3 separate regions of the Homo sapiens genome follow, and all the other regions are linked to region 1. Evidence: promoter capture Hi-C in human tissues and cell types (Jung and others, 2019). All regions are on one chromosome and are shown on one strand. The core of a region is centred on a gene start or on the middle of the fragment in contact, and the rest is flanking DNA. Distances in the headings are between cores, read along the strand shown. Region 1 holds the start of DVL1 (dishevelled segment polarity protein 1). Region 2 has its middle 9.3 kb from the start of SSU72-AS1. Region 3 holds the start of TMEM240 (transmembrane protein 240).

Evidence for each region. Contacts are between HindIII fragments. The study calls those that stand out against the background at their distance.
Region 2: a contact is called between a fragment that was not itself captured here and the fragment with the promoter of DVL1 in region 1, in 1 of the 25 tissues and cell types used here (stomach).
Region 3: the fragment with the promoter of TMEM240 here is called in contact with the fragment with the promoter of DVL1 in region 1 in 3 of the 25 tissues and cell types used here (heart left ventricle, lymphoblastoid cells and mesendoderm cells).

What each region holds. Positions count from the first base shown.
Region 1 is chr1:1,347,186-1,351,944 of GRCh38, forward strand. DVL1 (dishevelled segment polarity protein 1) reads right to left here and starts at 2,233. Exons shown (of 15, transcript NM_001330311.2): 1 at 1,711-2,233. The coding sequence starts at 1,880. RefSeq lists enhancers at 1-565, 566-1,195 and silencers at 748-924, 2,085-2,264, 2,365-2,684, 2,705-2,854. The HindIII fragment of the contact is 25,707 bases long and covers 1-4,759 here.
Region 2 is chr1:1,581,836-1,586,594 of GRCh38, forward strand. No RefSeq gene overlaps it. Among named protein-coding and RNA genes, the nearest start is that of SSU72-AS1, 9.3 kb to the left of the region's middle. The HindIII fragment of the contact is 3,924 bases long and covers 580-4,503 here.
Region 3 is chr1:1,537,797-1,542,555 of GRCh38, forward strand. TMEM240 (transmembrane protein 240) reads right to left here and starts at 2,828. Exons shown (of 4, transcript NM_001114748.2): 1 at 2,494-2,828; 2 at 1,888-1,994. The coding sequence starts at 2,550. It overlaps SSU72 (SSU72 homolog, RNA polymerase II CTD phosphatase), which reads right to left. Exons shown (of 5, transcript NM_014188.3): 5 at 3,877-4,371. The coding sequence ends at 4,270. RefSeq lists a silencer at 1,413-1,707. The HindIII fragment of the contact is 20,414 bases long and covers 1-4,759 here.

The DNA of each region.
Region 1 (4,759 bases), core at 983-3,482:
ACAGCCCAGCCCAGCCCAGCCCTGACCTCTGCAGCCCCACTGACTCCCAGCCCCCTGTAAGTCTGCAGCCTCCAAAGCTGTACACTGAAGCTCCCCTGTCTCTTTCCTGGCCGCATCCCCAAGCCTGCCTCGACACCCAGACCTGCCCACCCTGTTCCCAGGCCCGGGCACCCACGCGTCCTCCAAATGTGCCCAGCAGGTGCAGCCACTGCTAGAAGTGCACTAGGGCAACAGTCAGGCTGTCTCTGCCCTGGGCAGCCCCCGGTGGGTGTCAGGAGCAGAAGGCGGACTCCCCCAGGGCTTCATCCCAGAGCATGGTCCAGGAGCAGAACCTGGGGGCTGGGCACCTCCTCACTACGCATTTCCTGGTGGCACACATTTGCAACAAACAGCATTAGTAACTTTGGTAACTTTCGTTAGAATAATAAACTAAGTCAAAAACAAAAGTACCTGACACATGCCCCATGCTCAAGGCCAAAGCAGCCCAGGCCCAGAGAAGCAGGGACTGCAAGGTGCCCCAGCTGGGGAGGAGCCCGGACCAGACTCAGAAAACAAACCGCCCCCTCCTGCCCAACCTGACCGGAGCGGGCAGGAGGGCCGCTGAGCCGAGTGGGGAGCGCCCAGCCTTCAAAGGCTGCCAAGGACGCACCCTGCCCTCTCTGCTTTGCCTGGTCGTGGGGGTGGGGAAGGAAAGTACAGCTGTCTAGATGTCCCTTGGGCCCCCCTGAGAGCTCCAGAGCGGACCCAGCCTGACTGGACCTGGGGCTGCCTGAGGACCCTGCAACCACAGAATCCAAGAAACAACCTTAATGTCACAATCCCAAGAAGCGGCCACACACAAGGACACCGCTTGCCGGAGGCTCACCTCCTGGGGCCACGAGGCCTGAGCCCGCCCCCAGCACTGTTGAGCTGGGACTAGGGACTCAGGTTACTGGTGGCTGGGCCGGGCCAGGCCAGGCCTCAAGCAGACCGCCAGGCTCCTGCTCCCTGTCCCAGAGGGCCCAGCTCAGCACAGCAGGGGTCTCCTCGCCTGGGACACCACCACCGAGGCCCAGCAGGGAGACGCTGACCCAGGCTGCCCCGAAACAGCAGATGGTCTGGGCTGCTCCGGGAACGCAAGTGCTTTGTGGCTCAGTGGGGACGGGGCCCACAGGAAGCTCAGGACACGGGTAGGCGAATAAAGTTTCATGGTCACCAGTGGCCCTTGACCTCCACCCTGTCACAAGGACCCTGCAGAAGGGGGCCAGGAGAACCTGTCTTGACCCTCGGGAAGCTTCTGCAAACCCTAGCAGACAGGTTGGTGAACCTGTACCCCCATGTCTCCCCATCCCAGCTAGGGAACCCCACCCTGCTTCCTTCCCACTGACACGCCCCTGACCCCAGCCCGCACCAACGGCAGGCGCTCCCGGCCAGCCCCGGTGGAAGCGATGCGGCCGACCGAGTCTGACACGGGCCAAGGCAGGACTCGGGGCCGGGAAGCTGGGGCCAGGGACGCCGGGAACCCCGCCTGCCATCGCCCCGCTCCACGGACAGGTGGGCGCGCGCCGCACACGGGCCGAGGCCGCCACCCGCGCCGCATCTAGCGGAGGCGCGTCGCGGTCGCAGGTCCCCGGGGGCGCGAACGGCTCAGGACCCCCGCCCCGTCCCCGCGCGGGCAGGTGCGACCCCCGAGCCCGCGCCAGGCTCGCGCAGGCCTCGCGGCCGACTGACCCGAAGTCCTGGTCCATGGACTTAAAGAAGAATTTGTAGGCGTGCACGGGCCGGTTGCTGAGCACGTTCTTGAAGTCGGCCAGCGTGACGCGCTCGGGGGCCACGGGCAGCTTGACCAGGTACGGCGTCTCCTCCTCGTCCATGTGGTAGATAATCTTGGTCTCCGCCATGGCGCGGCGGCGGCGCGGAGCCCGCGCGCTCAGGGCCCGGCCCGGGGCTCGGACGCGGGGCGCTACCCGCCCGCCCGCCTGCGCCCCGCCCGGCCCGCACCGCTCTCGGCCCCGACGCTCCGAGGCCCCCGGGCGCCCCCGCCCGACCGCCCAGGCCCCGGCCGCCGCCCCCGGCTCCCGCGCGCGTCCCGACTGCTGCCCCGCGGCCCGCGGCCGCCCATCCGCCCCCGGCCCGGGAGCGGCGCGAGGGACGCAGCACGGAGGGCGCGCTCAGCCCCGCCGCCCTCCCGCCTGCGCCCCTCGGGCCGCGCCGTTAAAGGGACCGCCCGGCCCGGGGTCCTGAGCGTGGCCGCGGGGGGGCGCCCGAGCGCGCGGCGTTGACGTCACGGGGGCGCACGGCGGGGGCGGGGCGAGGATGCGCAGACGCAGGCGATCATCGCTCGCCCCGCCCCGCCCCGGCCCCGCCCCCGCGCGCGGGCCCGCGCTCCATTATGATCCGGCGCATGCGACGCGCGCCGCTGGCTGTGGGCCCGTGGGCGCCGGGGCGCTCGGGTCGGGCGGAGGGACCCCGGGGACGCCGGGTGCGCGGCGCTGAGGTGGCGCCCGGTCGCTCTGCGCCACCGCGAAGGCTCCCGACTCGCGTGCCCTCTGCCGGGTCCCACGGGGTCCAGGCAGCAGGCCGAGCGGATGCGGGGCGCGCGGGGGCGCGGGCGTGCACGGAGGCGTCGGAGCGCCCGGCGGCGGGAGGGATTTAGTCCTGGGGTTCTCCGCAGGGCAGGGGAGACTTCCGAGGCGTCCCTTGAGGCCGCGGGGCGTCCGCGCTTACTGTTCCGGGGCTCGCGGGGCTGGAGGCCTTCCCGACCCGACCCCAGCAGGAAGCGCGGAGGCCACTAGAGGGCGGCCCAGGATGGGAGGAGTGAGGAGGGGGCCTGGACGGGGCAGGAGCGACGGGGGGAGTGAGGAGGGGGCCTGGACGGGGCAGGAGCGACGGGGGGAGTGAGGAGGGGGCCTGGACGGGGCAGGAGCGACGGGGGGAGTGAGGAGGGGGCCTGGACGGGGCAGGAGCGACGGGGGGAGTGAGGAGGGGGCCTGGACGGGGCAGGAGCGACGGGGGGAGTGAGGAGGGGGCCTGGACGGGGCAGGAGCGACGGGGGGAGTGAGGAGGGGGCCTGGACGGGGCAGGAGCGACGGGGGGAGTGAGGAGGGGGCCTGGACGGGGCAGGAGCGACGGGGGGAGTGAGGAGGGGGCCTGGACGGGGCAGGAGCGACGGGGGGAGTGAGGAGGGGGCCTGGACGGGGCTGGAGCGACGGGGGGAGTGAGGAGGGGGCCTGGACCGGGCAGGAGCGACGGGGGGAGTGAGGAGGGGGCCTGGACCGGGCAGGAGCGACGGGGGGAGTGAGGAGGGGGCCTGGACGGGGCAGGAGCGACGGGGGGAGTGAGGAGGGGGCCTGGACGGGGCAGGAGCGACGGGGGGAGTGAGGAGGGGGCCTGGACGGGGCAGGAGCGACGGGGGGAGTGAGGAGGGGGCCTGGACGGGGCAGGAGCGACGGGGGGAGTGAGGAGGGGGCCTGGACGGGGCAGGAGCGACGGGGGGAGTGAGGAGGGGGCCTGGACGGGGCAGGAGCGACGGGGGGAGTGAGGAGGGGGCCTGGACGGGGCAGGAGCGACGGGGGGAGTGAGGAGGGGGCCTGGACGGGGCAGGAGCGACGGGGGGAGTGAGGAGGGGGCCTGGACCGGGCAGGAGCGACGGGGGGAGTGAGGAGGGGGCCTGGACGGGGCAGGAGCGACGGGGGGAGTGAGGAGGGGGCCTGGACGGGGCAGGAGCGACGGGGGGAGTGAGGAGGGGGCCTGGACGGGGCAGGAGCGACGGGGGGAGTGAGGAGGGGGCCTGGACGGGGCAGGAGCGACGGGGGGAGTGAGGAGGGGGCCTGGACCGGGCAGGAGCGACGGGGGGAGTGAGGAGGGGGCCTGGACCGGGCAGGAGCGACGGGGGGAGTGAGGAGGGGGCCTGGACGGGGCAGGAGCGACGGGGGGAGTGAGGAGGGGGCCTGGACGGGGCAGGAGCGACGGGGGGAGTGAGGAGGGGGCCTGGACGGGGCTGGAGCGACGGGGGGAGTGAGGAGGGGGCCTGGACGGGGCAGGAGCGACGGGGGGAGTGAGGAGGGGGCCTGGACGGGGCAGGAGCGACGGGGGGAGTGAGGAGGGGGCCTGGACCGGGCAGGAGCGACGGGGGGAGTGAGGAGGGGGCCTGGACGGGGCAGGAGCGACGGGGGGAGTGAGGAGGGGGCCTGGACGGGGCAGGAGCGACGGGGGGAGTGAGGAGGGGGCCTGGACGGGGCAGGAGCGACGGGGGGAGTGAGGAGGGGGCCTGGACGGGGCTGGAGCGATGGGGAAGAGAGTGCGGTGGGGTCCCTTGGTTCCCGTCCCCAGGAAGCCGGCGAGATGGAACTGGCATCTATCGGGCCCTGACCGTGCTGGGGGCTGCACCGGCTCGGAAAGAAACCGATCAGTGCAGGCACCAGTGCTTGACGGTCAGCTTGGGCCTGGGATCCTGACCCTGCACCCGGGCTCTGAGAGGGAGAACTGTGGCGTTTGCTCAGCCAAGCCCGGACAGCTTAGCCGCCAGCCCCCTCCACCTTCCCGCAGCCCTTCTCTTCCCCAGAGGTCAGAAGCCAGGCAGGAAGACCTAAGAGGGGCTATCTGTTGAGGCCCCAGGGAGGGAGGAAGCCTGTCCCTGCCCTGAGGGCCTGACCCCAGGCTAGGTCTCAAGAGAGGCTGGAAGCCAGAGGCCTGAGGCCAGTCCCGTTGCTGACGCGGATGTGGTCCAGCTGGGGCCCTGACAGGTGTGGCCACTGGTGAGGCCAGAGGTAACCGGGCT
Region 2 (4,759 bases), core at 1,292-3,791, 230 kb after region 1:
CACTTGAACCCAGGAAACAGAGGTTGCAGTAAGCTAAGATCAAGCCACTGCACTCCAGCCTGGGCGACAGGTGAGACTCTTAATGAGTAAACCCAGGCAAAAATGTATGCTGCCAATTTTTATGACATTTCTATTTTTATTTTACAGCAAATTTAAAACCAGCTTATTTATTAAAGATTTACAGCCTGGGGGCCGGGCGTGGTGGCTCACACCTATAATCCCAGCACTTTGGGAGGCCGAGGCGACCGGATCACGATCAGGAGACCATCCTGGCTAACACAGTGAAACCCTATGGCTACTAAAAACACAAAAATTAGCCGGGTGTAGTGGTGGCACATGCCTGTGATCCCAGCTACTCAGGAGGCTGAAAATCACTTGAACCTGGGAGTCGGAGGTTGCAGTGAGCCAAGATCGCGCCACTGTACTCCAGCCTGGGTGACAGAGCGGGACTTCATCTCAAAACAACAACAACAAAAAACAGACAATTGGATCCCAATTATATGATAGTATTTCTGACAAAATGGGACATGTTCACATGGCTAAACTTTATTTGCCCAAATAGGTGATCTAATGAAGGATACAGACCAAAATTTGGGGGATCGCAGTTTGTATAGGAGGTTTATTATTTTAAAAAACCTCATTTTACCATTTTTCCCATTTCAAATGATTTGGGGTTATGTATTCACATGTTTCTCCACCTCTCCCTTTCCCCCAGGACTCTTGGCTTTCAGAAGCCCCTCTGGAACATCCCACCCAGTAAAACCCCATCCCACCAGTGCAGAAAACATGGTGCCCCTATTATAGTGGATCCAGCCTTGAAGAGGCCTCACCCTGCCTCAACACCTCTTCCCCAAGACCCTGACGGCCAGGACAGTGTCTTTTTGCCTTCAGACTAGGCAGAGTGAGGTCCCCTGAGAGAGATAAATATTGTTATTTCCCCACCCAAAGTTATTTGCATTAGGTGAAAAATGGCCACACATTCTTTGTGGTTCCTCTCATCAAGACATACGGTCTCTTTCTCATCCCTTGAATCCGGGCAAAGCCTTGTGATTTGCTCTGATCAAAAGAACTTAGTAGAACTGACGTTGTCCCAGCCCCAGTTCCAGGCCCAGAACCCAAGAAATCTTGCAGCTTCTACTCTCACTCTCCTGGAGCCCTAAGGCTGAAGCAGCCTGCTAGACAGGCCACCCCAACCAACAACCTGTCACCTGCCAGACAAGTGAGTCAGGCTGTCCTAGACCATCCAGGTGTAGCGGATGTGACAAATGACCACAGCTCCATGAGGGTCCGCAGGTGAGCCCAGTGCAGATTGCCAACCCACAGAATTGTGGACAAATACGTGACCTGTTTTTGCTGCCAAATTTTGGGATGGTCTGTTACACAGTGAAGGCTAGCTGATACGCAGTTCCTCATTTCTCCTCTGGTGATGAGATCCACTTTCATTTCAGGAGGCAGTGTGCCAGTCTCAGTAGATGGAACACAATCCACAATCGGTCTATTCAACCATGACAATTTTATTCCCTACTGTTGGGGAAGTGTCTCGAGTCAGACCCTCCCCACCAAGTGCAAAGAGAACGCATCTCAGCTATCCCTTCTGCCAGCCCAGCCTACGGGGGCCAGATGTATCTTCTGGGCTCTTAGAAGTGTCAGTCGGTGCCATGGGGACTGCTCCTACAAGTCTGGCGTGGATGCCCCCAGGTACACCCTGAGGTCCGAGAGGGTGGACTGCACAAGCTTGTCCAGGATGGCCCTTGCTGCAGCTACCGGTAGGCTGCGTGCCAATAACAGCCGCCAAAGGAGTAGAAGTAATCACCAACCTGGGTCCCTTTGATCCAGGACATCCGTGGGGCACACTGTCTGGGTCTTCCTAGGTCATGTCCACGAGGTTCTGCGTCTCGGCTGGGCCCAGCACAGATGGTGGCAGCTACGTGAGCAGCTCAGTGGCACGCCGTGCACCTGGGAATGCAGCCCGACTGGGCACTCCCGCCCTGCACACCGTTGCAGGGCCTGGGACCCGGGGCTGCCCCAGCCCACATCCACCCTGCCCGATCGATGCTCCTCCTGCACACAGCCCCGTTACCACTGCCACTGCCCCAAAGCATAAAAATTTTTTTTTTTTTTTTGAGATGGAGTTTTGCTCTTGTTGCCCAGGCTGGAGTGCAATGGCATGATCTCAGCTCACCACAACCTCTGTCTCCCGGGTTCAAGCAATTCTTCTGCTTCAGCCTCCCGAGTAGCTGGGATTACAGGCATGCGCCATTAATTTTGTATTTTTAGTAGAGATGGGGTTTCTCCATGTTGGTCAGGCTGGTCTCAGACTCCAGACCTCAGATGATCCGCCCGCCTCGGCCTCCCAAAGTGCTGGGATTACAGGCGTGAGCCACCGCGCCCGCCAATTAATTTTTTTTTTTTTTTTTTGAGACGGAGTCTCGCTGTGGCCCAGGCTGGAGTGCAGTGGCGCAATCTCAGCTTACTGCAAGCTCCATCTCCCAGGTTCACACCATTCTCCTGCCTCAGCCTCCCGAGTAACTGGGACTACAGGCACCCACCACCACACCCGGCTAATTTTTTGTATTTTTAGTAGAGACGGGATTTCACCGATTAGCCAGGATGGTCTCAGTCTCCTGACCTTGTGATCCACCCACCTCAGCCTCCCAAAGTGCCAGGATTACAGGCGTGAGCCACCGTGCCCGGCCAGTTTTGGGGTTTTTTTGTTTTTGTTTTTGTTTTTGAGACAGCGCCTTGCTGTGTCGACCAGGCTGGAGTGCAGTGGCATGATCTTGGCTCAGTGCAACCTCTGCGTCCCGGGTTCAAGCAATTTTCTTGCCTCAGCCTCCTGAGTAGTTGCAATTACAGGCGTGTGCCACCACGCCTGGCTAATTTTTTGTATTTTTAGTAGAGACGGGGTTTCACCATGTTGGCCAGGCTGGTCTCGAACTCCTGACCTCGTGATCCTCCCACTTTAGCCTCCCAAAGTGTTGGGATTACAGGCGTGAGCCACCGTGCCTGGCCACCCATCAGTTTTAAAATGTGCCTGAGTTAGAGCAGAACAGAAGCTGAGAAAAATTAAAAAGAAAGATAAATAAGTACAGTTTGCCCAAGTTGGGCCATAATATAGCCTGCTGGAGAACCAAAAAATCTGCTGTGACTTAATGTTTGAGAATCCCATTTCATTTCTTCTTATTTTCTGAAGAGCAAAGAAGCTTCCATAGATCCTATCAGGAATTGTCAAGCACATGGACCACTGTTTCAGATGGTGGCGACAGACCCAGTAACTTTCGTTGTTGTTTTGTTTTCTTTTGAAACAGAATCTCACTCTGCAGTCCAGGCTGGAGTGCAGCGGTGCAATCTTGGCTCACTGCAACCTCTGCCTTGTGAGTTCAAGCGATTCTCCTGCCTCAGCCTCTAGACTAGCTGGGATTACAGGTGCATGCCACCATGTCCAGCTAACTTTTTTTGTTTGTTTATTTGTTTGTTTGTTTGTTTTGAGACGGAGTCTTGCTCTATTGCCCAGGCTGGAGTGCAGTGGTGCAATCTCGGCTCACTGCAAGCTTCACCTCCCGGGTTCATGCCATTCTTCTGCCTCAGCCTCCCAAGTAGCTGGGACTACAAGTGCCCGCCACCACGCCTGGCTAATTTTTTTTTTGAGATGGAGTCTCGCTGTGTCGCCCAGGCTGGAGTGCAATGGCGCAATCTCAGCTCACTGCAAGCTCTGCCTCCCAGGTTCACGCCATTCTCCTGCCTCAGCCTCCCAAATAGCTGGGACTACAGGCACCCGCCACCACGCCCGGCTAATTTTTTGTATTTTTAGTAGAGACAGGGTTTCACCGTGTTAGCCAGGATGGTCTCGAACTTCTGACCTCGTGATCCACCTGCCTCGGCCTCCCAAAGTGCTGGCATTACAGGTGTGAGATACCGCGCCCAGCCAAGACTCTTTTTTTAAAAACAAACAAGCAAACAAAAATTATCTGGACATAGTAGAACCAGCCTGTGGTCCCAGCTACTGAGGAGGCTGAGGTGGGAGAATCGCTTGAGCCTGGGATGTTGAGGCTTCAGTGAGCCAACACTGTGCCACTCCACTCCAGCCTGGGCAACACAGAGAGACCATGTCTTAAATAATAATAATAATAATAATAATAATAAAATGCAATTTTAAAAAGAGGGAAGCACAGCCACAGAAGATTCTCCAAGGCAGAGCATGCGAACCACGGAAGCAGAGAGCCCATAGGGCTCGGCGAGCATGGGGCACTGGCTCCAAGAACCGCCAGTTCCTTCTTAAAGTGACCTTCCTTCAGGTCCTGTTTCAGAGCATCATTTATGTCAAACTAAATAACAGAGAGGGGTTCTCTAGCAGAAAATGATATTTATTCGAAGAGGACAGCCAGAAGAGGAAGAGGGCAGGGAGGCGACCAGGATGACCAGCTGCAGAGAGGAGTACCTTCTCCTCTGTCCTCCGCTGAGAGCTGCCCAGACAACCTGTCAGCAGAGAGGAGCTACCTCTACCCTGTCTGTGGAGAGCCTGAGACCTGCGGAGACATCCAAACGACTTCCTGTGGAGAGGAGCCGCCCTCTCCAGCCTCCTGTCTGCCAAGAGCTCAACACTCACCGGGAGGATGCTGTTCTCACATTAAATAAACTCTTCTTTTTCTTTTTTGGGACGAGGTCTCACTCTGTCACCCAGGCTGGAGTGCAGTGGCGCGATCTTGGCTCACTGCAAGCTCCGCCTCCCGGGTTCATGCCATTCTCCTGCCTCAACCTT
Region 3 (4,759 bases), core at 1,578-4,077, 190 kb after region 1:
CACGCGAGTGCATGTTCGCTTGGCTTTGCAAAACGCAGCCACCCTCTCCACGGGGCGCCACGTCACGTGCATGGACGGATGTCTAGTTTGGACGCTGCCTGCCAACAGACTTTGGAGCATTGATTTCCATACACGTTCTCCACGTCAACGTCTACGTATAGGCACGTATGAGGCCTACACATGTACACACACTCGTTCTGAACACCAGCGTGTACACACAGGGAGCCTCTCATGGCAGTGCACGGGCATGGTGGATACGCAGATACCGCATGTGCAAGACTGCTGTCTGCACACACACTGGCTGCAGCTACACGGAGACATCTTGACATGTCCCTGAGCACACGGCACTGTATATTGTGACATACATGTACTTTGCATACACATATATGTTGTCAATATACAAGGGCACTCTGTACGCTGAACGTACATATCCTGTATGTAGAGATGTGAACAGAGCATAGATACATGGACACACACGCAGCAATACCGTCTACAGCAGGCTGTGGCTCTGCTTCCCACACACGGCTGCCTTCAGCGTGCACCCACCCGAGTCCACGCGTGCTCTGGACACGGCATGAGCCGCCCTACATGCCCTGTGCAAATACTCTAAGGCGCCTCTGCCTGCCCCGCGGAGCCCTCAGTGTGCTGCCACAGGCGGATGCACACGGCCCCAGCCCACGTGCGTGGAGGCCGCACCTTTCTGATGCTCTGGAGCTCGGGTCTGGGCCCAGCCTCCGGGAGGCAGTGGAGCCGACCTCAGGCCTTTGCTCAGCAGTCGGACCTGCCAGCCAGGGACACGGGGCTCTCTGGTAGCATGTGGCCACCCCACAAGCTCTTACCCCCTACCCTGTGCCCAGCACACGTGAGGGTCACAGACACCCCGATCTCTGCCTTCTCTAACACCCGTGTTCTTCATCGACACGCCTGCTGCACCCATAGGCATGTCACACGCTTAGCAACACATGCAGCTGTCCTGAACACACATGCCCCACACCCACACGTATGCACAGAGACCCCCGGAGCAGGAGGCAGCAGAGATGACGAACACGGGTTCTGGGCTGGTGCCCCCTTTGTCCTTCACTAGCTGTGTGACCTTGGAAAAGCCTGTCCTCTAAATCCTCCGTCCACTTCCTCATCTGTTCAGCAGGGTTAACAGCGGCCACTGCGTGAGGGTGTCCTGAGGGGTGGAAGTGCATGCGTGCGTGCGCGGGGGCTGTGTGTACGCACATGTATATGCACAGACGCCACACACATGCGCGTCTCATGAGAAGATGTTTATTTCGTACATGGACGTACAAACATGCATGGCCAAGAGGATCCCATCGCTACACGTGCACAGAGGGGGTCACACGGTGGGTGCGGGGGGTCTGGGCGCTCCCCTCAATCTGAATGACCTTGAGGAAGCTCCACCTCCCCGCTGCCCCCCCAGCCCATCCCTCAGCTCCTCTCCAGCCCGGGGGTGGTGCCCAGTGCCCCTCAAGGCAGGCCCTTCCCGCCTTGACCTGCATTCCCCTGCCCAGGGACTCAGTGCAGGGCCCAGCCCTGTGCCAGCAGGCGCTTCCTGCCCCAGCCCTGATGAGGCTGGCTTGGGTCTCCACTGTGGACATCACACTGGGCTGCGGCTTTCCGGCCTCCAGGCTGGACCAGGAGGCCCCGTGACCCATTCCGCCATCACCCTGGAGGCCTCTAGGAACGGCGTCCTAAAGCCATGCGCCCCCAGGAGACCCCCGCCCACCTTGAGACAGCTCCTCCCCCTGCGCACCTGGCAGCCCTCAAGGGTGGAAGGCGGCTCGCGGCCTGCGTGGGGCTGGTTCCCCCGCGCCCCGAGTGGGCCCCGCCACACATGTGCGCTCACGCGTGTCGAGCCGGCGCCGGTTGTGGACTCACCGGCCACAGTTGCAGTGGCAGACGCGGTCCTCGCCCCGCAGGTGCGGGAGGATGTAGTTGTGGAATCGGTCCAGCAGCGCGTTCATGTCCATCAAGCACGCGATGGCCTGGAAGAGCTCATGACCGGTCAGCGCCAAGGAGCGGGCGGGACGAAGCGGGGCTGGGGGTGGGGAGCGCAGGCCGGGGTCGGGGCAGCGCAAGCGGGGAGCGAGAGCGCAGGCCGGGGTGAGGGGAGCGTAGGCCTTGGTAGGGGGAGCGCAGCGGGTATGGGGATCGCAGGCTGGGGAGGGGAGCGCAGGCCGGGGTGGGGGGAGCGCAGGCCCGGGAGGGGACCGCGGGCCGGGGAGGGGGAAGCGCAGGCCGGGGTGGGGGGAGCGTAGGCCGGAGAGAGGAGCGTAGGGAGTGTGGGGATCGCAGGTTGGGGAGGGGAGCGGAGGCCGGGGTGGGGGAGCGCAGGCCGGGGAGGGGAGCGCAGGCCGGGGAGGGGAGCGCAGGCCGGGGAGGGGAGCGCAGGCCGCACGGGCGGTAAACAAGGCGCGGGAGGTGGGCCAGGCGGCGCGCGCGGGCGGGGAGCAGGGGGCGCGCGCGGGAAGCCCCTCCGCTCACCATCACGACCGACGCCCCCAGAATCATGAAGATCATGGTGTTCGCGCTCATGGACATCGGGCGGGGCCGGGCCGGGCCGGAGCGCCGCCCCCCGGCCCCGGCGCCCCCCCGGCCCCGGCCCGATGCTGAGCCCCCGCCGCCTCCGCAGAGGTCAGCGCTTCCCTGGATCGTCCGCCGCCGCTCGCTGCAACCCCGGCACCGGCCGGGGGGAGGAGGCGCGGGGGGGGGGGCGCCGGGGAGGGACGCGGGGCCTTTCTGGGGTCTCTCGGCCCGGCCCGCCGCGCTCCGCTCCGCCCTCGGGTCCTCCCTGCGATGCGCTCGGCTCGGCTCGACTCGGCTCCGCTCGGCTCCGGCCCCCTCCCTGCCTCCTCCTCCCTCCTCCCCCCTCCCTCCCCGCCGCCTTCCTCCGCCTCTCGGGAGGGACCGCGCAGACCGCAGGCCGCCCCGTGCCAGCGCCGGGAGGAGACCGCCATCCCCCGGACGCCGGCCGGGACCCCTCCCCGGGAGCCTCGGCTTCGCGTCCCGCCCCAGTCTGGTCAGACCCAGCCCCGGTGGCCTGTCCGGTGACCCTGGACGCCAGTCCTCCGGTCCTGGAGGGGCGCCGAGGCCCTTCCCGCCCCACTGCTCCGCCCTACGTCCTGGACTCCCAGGTCGCCGGGTGCGGGACTGCCCCAGTCCGCTCGGCACGCACGTGCCTCCAGGGTGGGGTCCGCAAGGTCGCGACAGCCCCACGGCCGTGGGGGCCACAGGTCAGGGACGGGATGACCCCTGGAATCCTCAACGGAGGGATGTGGCACAGGAGCCGAGGGCAGGGCCGCCCCGCACAGGCTTCCCTTAGGGCGGGGACGAGGGGGTCAGCCCAGGCCCATGGGTCGGGACGCCGGCCATTCAGAGGCCCAGTGGCCACCACTCCGCTGTGGCTGTCCCTGGCTCGGGGTCCTGAGGCCAAACTCTCATCCACGACCGGTGACCATGTCTCAGGCCCGGGAGCCGACCCCCGGCCTCAGCAGGAAGTCAGCGGGAAGCTATGCCTGGGACCCAGCCTGGGTCGTGGCGCCATCCAGGCTCACTGCAGCCTCCACTCCTGGGCTCAGGCGATCCTCCCGGCTCAGCCTCCCCCGTAGCTGGCCTTGGGGGATCCCCGCCCGGGGGGGTTCCACATGGAGAGGGGACGCCGCTCCACCACAGGCAGCAGTTGTGGCAGGAGCAGGCGGCTTCCGCTTCAGGCAGCACAGGCACGGGTAGGCCCAGACCCTGTCAGCACCACCAGGTCTGAGCTACTCCTCCCAAGCAGTGGTCGGAGGTCACTGAGGGCGGCAGGGCTAGGCCTCTGCCACCTCCTCAGGGGCGAGGGTCGGGCCAGGAATTCAGGACCAGGCACAATGACAGCAGCATCTGTTTATTGACAATTCCAGGTCATTCCTAACACGCCGCAGCAGGGCTCTGTACAGTCCGGCCCGGTGGGGAGGAGGGAGGGAAGGCAGGCACACGAAGACACAGGTATGTCGGGAAGTGCACACAAACCGTTGTCTTTCCTTTTTGGTTAAAGAAGAAAAACTTTGTAATCAATATCCTGCTCATAAGTAAAAGTGGAAAAGAAGAAACTTGATTGCTTTCATCTGGCGTTTTGGCATCTCCTCTCCCATTTCATATGCACAGTTTATTTGGGTAATGCTACCGTCACCAGCAGAACACCTGTAAGTAAAAACAAATGTCAGGAAGGAAAAAGTATGAACAACAGGAAGCTCCAGAGGCGGCTCCATGCGGGCGCTGGGCTCAGTAGAAGCAGACGGTGTGCAGAAAGGTGCGGCCACTCTTCTCCTCGAACTCCTGCAGCAGCTCGTCGATCTCGTTCTCCATGTCTTCCGTGTGCTGGATCTGCAAGGACAGGACCGTGGTGAGGGCCTTGCCCACTCCTGCCTGTCTGCTCCCCCTAACACCTGGATCGCCAGGGAAACGCCAGGCCTGAGCCAGCAGAAACCAGCGCAGCAGGCAGGCCCTCACCCCACCGCTGCTGCCTCACAAGGACGGCCGGAGGCTGCAGGGGGAGAGCGTCCCGGGCAGCCCCCACCTCCCCACCGACCCTCACAGGACCTGAAGCTGGGAGGAGCTGGGAGGAGCCTGGAGCTGGATTCTGAGAGGGGCCCAGCACGGAGACCTGGCGGCCAGGGCTCAGACCCACACATGCACAGCGGGGCCGACCAACCCTCACCGCCAGCGCTTCCACACCACCAACAAGCGAGCGGGGGCAGCCTGGTCATCGGAG